Linked DNA regions of Homo sapiens: regions 1 and 2 are each linked to region 3. The links are contacts of gene promoters, found by promoter capture Hi-C in human tissues and cell types (Jung and others, 2019). All regions are on one chromosome and are shown on one strand. The core of a region is centred on a gene start or on the middle of the fragment in contact, and the rest is flanking DNA. Distances in the headings are between cores, read along the strand shown.

Region 1 (3,479 bases), core at 96-2,595, 760 kb before region 3:
TGTGAGCTGGGAGTCCCAGCCACTTGGGAGGCTGAGGTGGGAGAATCGCTTGAGCCCAGGAGGTCAAGGCTGCAGTGAGCTATGATCACACCACTGCACTCCAGCCTGGGCAATAGAGCAAGACCCTGTCACTGAAAAACAAACAAACAAAAATGATTAGTTCTGGAATCCAGAAGTCTGAAATCAAGGTGTTGGAGGGGCCCCGCTCCCTCTGAAGGTGCTAGGGGAGAATCCTTCCTTGCCTCTTCCCGCTTCTGGTGGCTCCAGGTGTCCTTGCCTTATGGCAGCCTCGCTCCTGCCTCTGCCGACATTTCCGTGTAGCTCCCTCTGTGTCAGCATCTTCTCTTCTTGTAAGGACACTTGTCAGTGGATTTGGCCCCCCACGGATAATCCAGGACGATCTCATCTTGAGATCCTTACTTTTTTTTTTTTTTAAGATGGAGTTTCGTTCTTGTCACCCAGGCTGGCGTGCAATGGTGCAATCTGGTCTCACTGCAACCCTCTCCTCCCGGGTTCAAGCGATTCTCCTGCCTCAGCCTCCCAAGTAGCTGGAATTACAGGCATCCGCCACTACGCCTGGCTAATTTTTTATTTATATTTTTAGTAGAGAGGGGGTTTCGCTGTGTTGGTCAAGCTTGTCTTGAGCTCCTGACCTCAGGTGATCCGCCAGCCTCAGCCTCCCAAAGTGCTGGGATTACAGGAGTGAGCCACCGCGCCCGGCCGAGATTCTTATCTTCATTACATTCGCAAAGACTCTTTTTTCAAATAAGACTGTATTCCCTGGTCCCAGGTGGACGTGTCTTTTGCAGGGGGGCCACCAGTCAACCCACTGCAAAATCCCCAGGCAGTGCCCTCTCCCACGTTCCTCTCCTCCTTGGGGCTCCCAGCCCCTCCAATCCAGCCTCCTTGAGTAGGAACTGTGTGGTCCTCATTCACTTTTCCACCCCTAGGGCCCAGAGTGGGCAGTGTGTTTGCAAATATAACTCCGTTCCTCTCTTCTTCCCTCCCTCCCTCCAGTAACCGATGCCACCAGAGGCTAGAACTGGTGCTGCACCTGTGGGACGAGGGCGCCACCGTGTGTCCAGCTTGGAGCAGTGTGGTCACAGGCTTGAGCCCAGCCCCTGCCCTGCTGACAGCCACTTACAGAGCGCCTGCCCCACCAGTCACTCCACCCACATCAGCCCTCTTCTTCATGGCCGCAGTATAAAGAGGGAATTACTATCCAGTTTTTCAGATAAGGAGACTGAGGCTGAGACCTTGCTAACGTCACCCAGCCTTCAGCTGCCGCCAACTCCAAAGCCACACCCACGCCATGCTGTGGACCAAAACTAGACCTGTGCGTGGGTCTGGGCGTGAGCCTTCAGACTTCTCAGGGTGTCCTGCTATTGGGAAGCTGACGCAGGAGGATTGCTTGAGCCCAGTAGTTCGAGACCAGCTTGGGCAACATAGTGAGACCCTCATCTCTACACCTCTTCTGTAAAGGGGGGAAGGTGCCAAGGACCGCCCTTGCCAGGTGGCCCCTTCCCCGTCTCTGGCCCTGAGAGAGACCTGCAGACCCCTGAGGCCTGTGGGTCTTGGGGGAATGAATTTTTGGGGAATACAATTCTGAGTACTTTCCAAACATTAGTCTTTTTGAATATTTTGGTGTTCATTGTTTTTCTCTAAACATTTGCATATGTGTGAACTATTTAGTGATTTAAAAAATATACTTAACTGGGTTAAAACTTTACGTAGGGCTGAGTGCAGTGGCTCACGCCTGTAATCCCAGCCCTTTGGGAAGCCACGGTGGGCGGATCACTTGAGGTCAGGAGTTTGAGACCAGCCTGGCCAATATGGTGAAACCCTGTCTCTACTAAAAATACAAAAATTAGCCGGCTGTGGTGGTGCATGCCTGTAATCCCAGCTACTCGGGAGGCTGAGGCAGGAGAATTGCTTGAACCGGGGAGGTGGAGGTTGCAGTGAGCCAAGATTGTGCCACTGCACTTCAGCCTGGGCGATGGAGTGAGACTCTGTCTCAAAAAACAAAAGAAAACGAAACCAACTTTATGTAGGCCTCCAGTTCCCCTCTAAAAGACAACAGCTGGCTGGGCGCAGTGGCTCACGCCTGTAATCCCAGTACTTTGGGGAAGCCAAGGCAGGAGGTTCACTTGAGGCCAGGGCTTCGAGACCAGCCTGGGCAACATAGTGAGACCCTGTCTCTATTTAAAACAAACAAACAAAAAAGGCCTGGCACCGTGGCTCATGCCTGTAATCCCAGCACTTTGGGAGGCTGAGGCAGGCGGATCACCTGAGGTCAGGAGTTTGAGACCAGCCTGGCCATGCGGCGAAACCCTTACTAAAAATACAAAAATTAGCCAGATGTGGTAGCGGTGGGGGGTGCCTGTAATCCCAGCTCCTCAGGAGGCTGCGGCAGGGAAAATTGCTTGAACCCGAGAGGTGGAGGTTACAGTGAGCCAAGATCGCACCATGGCCCTCCAGCCTAGGCAACAGAGCGAGACTCCATCTCAAAAAAAAAAAAAAAATAAAATAAATAAATAAAAAATAAATGAAAAACAATAACTGATGGCAGTTTCCTCCATATTCTCCCAGAGATGATCTGGGATGATTTATATATGTATATATGTATGTACATGTACACAGTATATGCAGACACACACACCACACACACATTCCCCCACTTCTTTTTAAAAGCAAATGGTGGCATACGATATACAATTCTCTACTGTCTTTTTCCACATAATGACATTTTTGCATTTATTCCATATGATTGCATATAATTTACCTTTGGGGGTTGTATTAGTTTGGGCTTCCTTAACAAACTACTATAGACTGGGGGGCTGAAATAGCAGAAATTGATTTTCTCACAGTCTGGAGGTTGGAAGTCCAGGATCAAGGGATGGGAATAGTGGCTTCTTCCCAGGCCTCTCTCCTTGGCTTGTAGATGGCCATCTTCCCATCATCTTTCTTCTGTACACATCTGTGTCCAAATCTCCTCTTCCTATAAGAGGCAAGGGTACTATTTTGATTGACATTATATACATGAAATAAGTGTATACAGAGTGAGCGCGCCATGTAGCCAGTAACCGAATAAAGGCCCAAATCATACTGGATTAGGGTTTGCCCTAAAGACCTCATTTTAACTTTTTTTTGAGACAGGGTCTCGCTCTGTTGCCCAGGCTGGAGTGCAGTGGCATGATCTTGGCTCACTGCAACCTCCGCCTTCCCGGTTCAAGTGATTATCCTGCTTCAGTCTCCCGAGTAACTGGGATTACAGGCATGCACCACCACGCCCAACTAATTTTTGTATTTTTAGTAGAGATGAAGTTTCACATGTTGGCCAGTCTGGTCTCAAACTCTTGTCCTCAAGTGTCCCCTCGGCCTCCCGAAGTACTGGGATTACAGGCGTGAGCCACTGCGCCCAGCCCCTCATGTTAACTTAGTCACCTCTTTATGCTTTGTTTTTGTTTTTAGAGACAGTC
Region 2 (3,678 bases), core at 375-2,874, 830 kb before region 3:
ACAGGAGAATCACTTGAACCCGGGAGGTGGAGGTTGCAGAGAGCTGAGATTGTGCCACTGCACTCCAGCCTGGGTGACAAGAGTGAAAACCCGTCTCAAAAAAAAAAAGAAGAAGCTATCCTTTACCTCCAGCCTCCACAAGGGAAGAGGAAAGATCTTACAATTCTGCTAGGACACAAAGGGGGAAGGAAAGGAGAAAATCCCAGCCCCAGTGTGTCAGGGCCCAGCCAAACCCAGGTATCTCTAACTTCTGCCTGGTTTTAGACTCTCTGGACTCTCAGAAAACCCCCACTGTTTCTAAACCTGAGAATGTTTTGTATGACCCACAGCTCAAGACCTGTGTCTGAGATCAGTTAGCCAGGGGCCCACCCATCCCCCCAGCCCAGTTGCTGCTGAGACCCAGGCGGACACTTCCGGCGTTCACAACGGTCAAGGGCTGCTGAGTGCCCCTTTTCCACCCCCTGCCCCTCTGGTGGCTAGGATGACTCTGAAACATCCCTAGAGGTTTGGTTCTGGGGCCAACCTCATGGTTCAACTCTGCTCAAGCCTGGCTTAAAAGGGGCCGGCCATGACCCCAAACCACGCTAGACAGTTGCCGGTGTGCCCGGGTCCAAGAGGGTTCCCTGAGGCCCTGGCAACGACGGGGTCCCAACAGCAGTTAAAGCCTTGGGAGAGAACCCTCACTAGACCAGGGAGAAGCCAGCCACGGCTTTCAGAGGCAGAGTCCAGGAGCGGGGCTGTGAGAGCAGGGGATCATCAGGGCTGTGGGTTAAGGAGCTCAGGTGGAGGGTTTGCGGGCTAGGAAGCCTAAGCAATAGGAAGCTACGTCTGAGGAGAAACAAGAAAAAAAGGGGTGTAGAAGCCTTTGAAGGAAGTTCAGCAAGAGCTGGGAAAGGCATCTTGGAGACTGAGGGGTTAGGCTGAAGGGAGTGACAGGGAGCTTGGAATTATTAATACTTCTGGAGTCTAAGACTCTCCCAAGCCTGTAGGGTGCGGGGGTTTCTCACTATGTGGCTAGAGACTAGGAGCGGCGGGAGGAATCAAATGGGGCAGTGGGTCCTCCCTTCCAGGACGGGGTAATGAGCAAATGTGACTACTTGCGGGCTCCAGGAACGCCATGCAGGGCCAGAGAGTGGAGGATTCGGGGCCTGAAAATAGTAGGGTCCCTCCCTCCCGGGTGTGAGATGCAACCCCGGGGAACCGCTCGCGTGCTCCTTCCCCGGGCCGCTACTCCGTGAAGCAATGTGAGCCTTGGGGGTTGGAGGCTGCTCTCTCCGTCCCGGGGGTTCCCGGCGCAGCTCACTCGCCGTCCCAGGGGTCATGGCCCAGGGATCCGACAGGTGGGCGGCGCCCGCTCCCACCGCTGGACCGCGCCGGGGCCGGGGTCCTCCATCGCTCCAGGGTCTGAGGGGCCGACTGAGGACACCGCCCCTCCCGGGCCGGGGGCGGGGCGTGAGGAGGGGGCGACCCGTACCCCGCCCCCGCCGGGAAGGGGCCCGCCTCGTGCCCCCGGTTCCGGTTCCGGTCCGGCCCGCGCCCCTCCCGGACACTCACTGATTCGCGCCTCCAGAGTCTCCGGCTCCATCGCGGGCTCCATCCGCCACCGGCCCCCAGCCTCGGCACCGCCCCCCCGCCCCCCGCAGCTCTCGCGGGACCTCCTGGGCACCGCCCTCTGCCGATTAAAGGGGCAACGTCCGAACGGGCGCGCTCGGCACCATAGAGAGGCCAACGAGCTCGCCTAGAGCGTCACCTACTCGCCCAACCCCACCCCCACGCGGCGTCTACGTCGCAGCTGGGACCGGCCGCCTGCTTTTCCGTTCCCGGCGCTCAGGCGGGAGAGGAAGTGGAGATACTGCAGGCTAAGGGCAGCACCATGGAAACCCCAAGGGACGCTCTAACTCGTTCTGCGTCACGGAGATGTCTGTGACCGCCTCCGGAAGAATTCTCTGCGGGCATGTTGCTGAGGGGCTCTGAGGCCACTTCCGGAGCCCTGAGCGGGTACTTCCGCTTAGAGTCGAACGTGGGAGAGTCCCTTAAAAGGGCGATAAGCTACATCCTCATGTACCTTGGCCGCTGTGAAAATGACGAAAATAAATCAGTTTCTTGAGTGCTTACAGTATTCTGGGCATTGTCCTAAGCACTATTTGTAATTAATCCATTTAGTTCTGACTCCTTACAACAAACCCACCAGATAATTAGTCGGCCTGAGGCCGCACAAGTAGCAGAGCTTGAACCCTGTGCCGTCTCCTCCATTCATCCAGCCAACGTTTAATGAACTCTTTGTATTTGCTTTGCTCTGTGATGGGCACAGAAGGAGATAGACAAGGCCAGATATTTATTACAGTGTGATAGGGGAAGCCCACGGGGTAGTGGGAACAAAGGAGGGGGCTCCTCCCCCAAACTGGGGTGGGGTGGGTGGGGGTGTTGTCAGGGGAGGGGTCGTGTCAGGGGAGGGGTCGTGTCAGGGGAGGTTTCAAGAGAAAGTGATACTGTACTTCGCTCAAAGACAGTCGGATTTCTCCACGTAGAGCTGGTGCGAAAAGATATTCAGGGAGAAAAAGTAGGATGAAGGCCGAGGAGGGCGGATCACGAGGTCAGGAGATCGAAACCATCCTAACACGGTGAAACCCCGTCTCTACTAAAAAAAAAAAAAAAAAAAAATTATCTGGGCGCGCCTTTAGTGCCAGCTACTTAGAAGGCTGAGGCAGAAGAATCGCTTGAACCCGGGAGGTGAAGGTTGCAGTGAGCCGAGATTGCGTCACTGCACTCCAGCCTGGGCGGCATAGCGAGACTCAGTCTCAAAAAAAAAAAAAAAAAAAAAAGTAGGATGAGTCCAGGGAGTTGGAAGTATTTCAATACGGCTCCCAGATATCTGCAAATAGATATCTATTTGCAGGAGATATCTTGGAATTAGGCTGGGGCAAGATCACCCAGGTCCCATGTTTTGCTGCCCTTTTTTTTTTTTTTCCCTGTAAGCAACGTTGGAGGTGTCGTTACAGTTTTACGGATGGTAGCAAAGTCAGGCTTTTGTTTTAGAAGGGTCCAGCAGTGGGAGGAAGATAGCAGTGGGAGCCAGACTGGAATCGGGGAGGACAGTACGAACAGACTTCCTAAGCTCGGCGCCTTTTCTCCTGTATCTCCCTCCATCAAAGACCTCCCTCACCTTGTGGCGTCACGACCTGGCGGCGCCTGGTCCCCGACTCACCTGGGTCCATTGCACTCTGTCGCCCCCTCGCGGCCGGCTGGGAAACCGGCCCGTGGCGACCTCTCCAGCGGTCCTGTGCCTGGGAGGGTTAAAGCTCCACTGAGACTAGGGAATCTGGCGAATCCGGTTCTGCCTTGGCGACTGACCTCGATTCACCTTGCGGAACCGCAGTAACCTCATCCAGGAGATGAGGGGGCTGTGCTGGGTCAGTTTTTCCCCTAAACTCAACCATTCAGCGACTGGGATGCTTTTCTAAATTCTCTCCCAAAGGCCATTGAGATTATACAGGGAAGTGATATGTATGTTTATTGCATTCCTCAACAAAAGCTGTAACGTAGTGTATACTTATAGCTTTTTGTTTATGTCTTTTACTACTGAAATGAATTATATATATTTTTTTATTTTATTTTATTTTTGAGACGGAGTCTCTCTCTGTCGCCCAGGCCGGAGTGCAGTGACGCGATCTCAGCTCA
Region 3 (3,438 bases), core at 687-3,186:
GTTTCTGTGTGGAGGAGAAGTTTACTGTGGGGTTGGAATGTCTCCGGTCTGAGGGTGGGTTATGTTGGGGCTGACATCTCTCTGACCAGAGGGGAGGTTATCTTGGGGCTGCATGTCTCTGGTCGGGGGGTGGGTTTATCTTAGGGTTGGAATGTTTCTGATTGGAGATGTCACTTGTGGTTTATGGTCATTCTGACATTAGCCATTAGGCTGATGCCCTTTGGGTTGAATTTAGGCCGTTTTTGATCAAGGAGAACTTTAAAATGGCAGTGCTTGTCCAAGATGGCTATGCTCCGGCTCTGTCATTACCCACCTCGCAAAATGAAGGAACCAAGGCTTCGGAGGCTGCCCTGATGTGTGTCTGTGTCTTAGCTACGTGGAGCTGCCTCGGGAGGGTGACTCACCAAATGGGGTCCTTTAAGGGATTAACAGGGTCACTCATGGTGAACAGGTTGGCCTGGAGGGGAGCCGGCAAGAGGAAGGCAGAAGACCAGAAAGAGGCTTTTTGCTCACTCAGACCTGGATGTCTGAGACAGACTCACGTGATGTCACCAAAGAAGAAAAGCAGTTACGAGAAATGAAGGAGAAACAGACCTTTACCGTAGCGCCAGGAATGAATCCCAAGGAAAGAACATCTCAGACAACTTGCATTTACTCTGGATTCGGGGCTGAAACCATCAGCCATTCATAGAGTGTGTGTGTTTATTCCCCCACACAAGGCTGGCAGCCACTCTGAGATGCAGAGTGGCGGAGAGGTGGAATGTTCTAGGTGTCTGGAGGGAATGTGGAACTTTCGCACAGGCACCTTTGCTGAGGGGCTGCTCTTCCCTTCAGCATCAGCCATCAGAATCCCAGGGGCCCTGAGAAAGTGAGAACAAGGGGTACATTCGGCCAACCAGTGACAGTGATGATAAACCAAATCTGTCCAGATAAGCTTCCGCTCTCCCATCCACCCCACAATCACGTGTGCACCTACTATCTCCCAGGCACTCATACGTTTCTCTCCTTCCATCTCCACAACCACCCCACAAGGCGGGTTCTCCTAGGCCCATCCTGAGGCTGAGGGATGAGGTGACTTGTCCAGGCCAGGGATTTAGGTCTCTGACCCCCTAACCACGTGCAAGAGGCACCCCCAACCCAGTAAACGCGTACAGAGAGCCTCCCTGGGTGACGGGCAAACGAGGTTAGTGATGCATTCTCCTTTTGCAGAGAGTAAATGGACTAAGAGCAAAGTACGACTTCAAGTTTCCGAGTCTCACCGCTTAGCCCCATCAAAGTGTATTTGTTCTCCCTTTGTTCACAAACATCACTTTAATAAAACACCTTCATATTTTAGATTTTAACGCTCATTACATCTTTGAGCTTTTAAAATGAGATTTCCCTGCGGGATGCGGGGCAAGGACTGCACTTCTCCATGCACTTTAATAGCCGCGCTGTGCAGAACCCGGGAACCGGGGAAGCCGCGAGAACCGCGCGAAGTCAGAGCAAGTCAAAACGACCTCTACAGCGGCGGCCTGGCCCACTGCGCAGGCGCCGCTCCAGACCGCCTAGAGCCCAACCTGCCCCATTGTAGGCGAACCCACTTCTAGAAGGACAGCGGGAGTGGCGAATCCCTATTCCTCCCGAAGATGGGTCAAGCCAGACTCTGACCAATCAGAAAGCTTCTCTTGTCACCGCTTCTGACTGCTTGACGTGGAGGCTTCTTTATCTCGGGACTCTCAGGCGCAGCGGGGGCGGGATATAAAGCTGGTTGACGTCAATTACAACCACTCGTCAAGCAGACTGAACTTGAAGAACTGATAACTCTACGAATTGCATCTCAAGAAAAGGCTGTTATCCCAGCTCTCTACTCCCATTGGATTTTTGTGAGACCTTGAGGGTGGGAGCTTTTGGCGGCAACCAATCGAGGGTCAGCGAGGAGGAGGAGGAGGCGGGGCAGGTGGGCTATGGTTGCTTGGAGAGTGCATCCGGCCCGGTACTTGTGATCGGAGGAGAGCCGGATCGTCCTTCCTTGAACCCTCTGGGTAGGGCTGTGCTGAGGGGCTGGGCGGGGAGCACAGGCCGTGTCCGCTCGCTTGCACCTTTTCAGACTGCCGTGTCAGGCCTCGAGCCGGGCCCACCTGGAGCCCTCCCCTGCCCACCCGCCCCCAGCGCCCGATATCCGCCCCCGGCCCAGAAGGGCCGGGCTCGGTCATCCCCAGTCCCGTCGCGGCCACTGACCCTTGAGATCAGCCCTCCCCTCCCCACCTTCCCGTCCCAGGCCAGCCCAGGGCCCGAAGCCCACCCACTCGCGTCTCTAGCAGCCGCTCTTGTCCTCTGGGTACGGCTCGCGGGAGTGTTGGTTACCATGGTGAAGCTGGCAGCCAAATGCATCCTGGCAGGTGAGTCTGAAAACTTGCGCTTGAATACGGTGGTCTCTGGAGTCCAGAGCCTTCATAATTCATCCAGAGCTTTTGTTCACCTAAATTGCCTACCTTTTCCTTTCTCTCTCCCAAAGGCGAGTTACTGCAATTACTGATACAGTAAATTACGTTAGGCGTGGAAGAATGATCTTCCAGGGCACTTCGCAGCTCCAGTGGATTTCCCCCTGCTCCCTGTCACATACTCTGAGACCACCTTCACCAGTTGAGGTGACTCGTTAAAAAATCACTAGTTACAACTCTGGAGAAGCAGACTTGTTAAAACAAAACAAAACAAACAAAGCTTAAGCAAACCTTGAGTGCTTCAGCTAAACATATACTGTACCCCAAAGTTAGGCATCAGTGACTTTGGTAGTCTTTACTATGGGATTTTTCCCCCGACCTCACCCCCTCTGATAACGGTGACCTGAGTGTAGTGACCAGAGTTTGCAAAAGGCACTTGTGTGTTGTCTTTAAGACCCAAAGTTACTGTGCTGCCCCACTCCAAGAAGGGCATAAATGTTGAGTCTCCCAAAGGCAGGAATCTTTGTTTTGTTGACTGATACATCCCAAGCACCCAGAACAATGCCTGGAACATAGTAGGTACTCAATAAATACTTTTAGAATGGATGAATATGTGAATATGTGGCATGCACATTTGTAGTGTACCCCTTGTATCAGTCTGCACATTTAGAAAAACAATATTTTGGATTATAGACTGCGAAACACATATGCATGTTACTGAGTGCTTACTGCATGTGAAGCACACATATTTCATGTAATCGTCTCACCATAGCACACTGGGCTAGGTACTGGATTGTTTTTCTTTTTTTTTTTTTTTTTTGAGACGGAGTCTCACGCTGTTGCCCAGGCTGGAGGGCAGTGGCGCAATCTCGGCTCACTGCAACCTCCACCTCCCTGGTTCAAGCAATTCCCCTGCCTCAGCCTCCCAAGTAGCTGGGATTACAGGCGCAAGCCACCATGCCCGGCTAATTTTTTTTTGTATTTTTAATAGAGCTGGGGTTTCACCATGTTGGCC

The links. The method cuts DNA at HindIII sites, captures the fragments that hold promoters and counts their contacts. A contact is called where the count stands out against the background at its distance.
Region 1: a fragment that was not itself captured here is called in contact with the fragment with the promoter of IFT27 in region 3 in 1 of the 25 tissues and cell types used here (dorsolateral prefrontal cortex).
Region 2: the fragment with the promoter of GGA1 here is called in contact with the fragment with the promoter of IFT27 in region 3 in 2 of the 25 tissues and cell types used here (dorsolateral prefrontal cortex and lymphoblastoid cells).

The regions. Positions count from the first base shown.
Region 1 is chr22:37,536,591-37,540,069 of GRCh38, reverse strand. No RefSeq gene overlaps it. Among named protein-coding and RNA genes, the nearest start is that of CARD10, 19 kb to the right of the region's middle. RefSeq lists a silencer at 997-1,186 and enhancers at 805-1,304, 1,305-1,806, 1,913-2,122. The HindIII fragment of the contact is 4,240 bases long and covers 1-3,465 here.
Region 2 is chr22:37,606,780-37,610,457 of GRCh38, reverse strand. It overlaps GGA1 (golgi associated, gamma adaptin ear containing, ARF binding protein 1), which reads right to left and starts at 1,624. Exons shown (of 17, transcript NM_013365.5): 1 at 1,555-1,624. The coding sequence starts at 1,597. RefSeq lists enhancers at 795-904, 619-1,240, 1,845-2,014, 2,165-2,244, a silencer at 1,235-1,684 and a cis regulatory region at 2,989-3,448. The HindIII fragment of the contact is 29,756 bases long and covers 1-3,678 here.
Region 3 is chr22:36,774,617-36,778,054 of GRCh38, reverse strand. It overlaps IFT27 (intraflagellar transport 27), which reads left to right and starts at 1,936. Exons shown (of 7, transcript NM_001177701.3): 1 at 1,936-2,381. The coding sequence starts at 2,348. RefSeq lists enhancers at 544-1,107, 1,635-1,894, 1,673-2,236 and silencers at 2,135-2,184, 2,315-2,374. The HindIII fragment of the contact is 3,270 bases long and covers 1,299-3,438 here.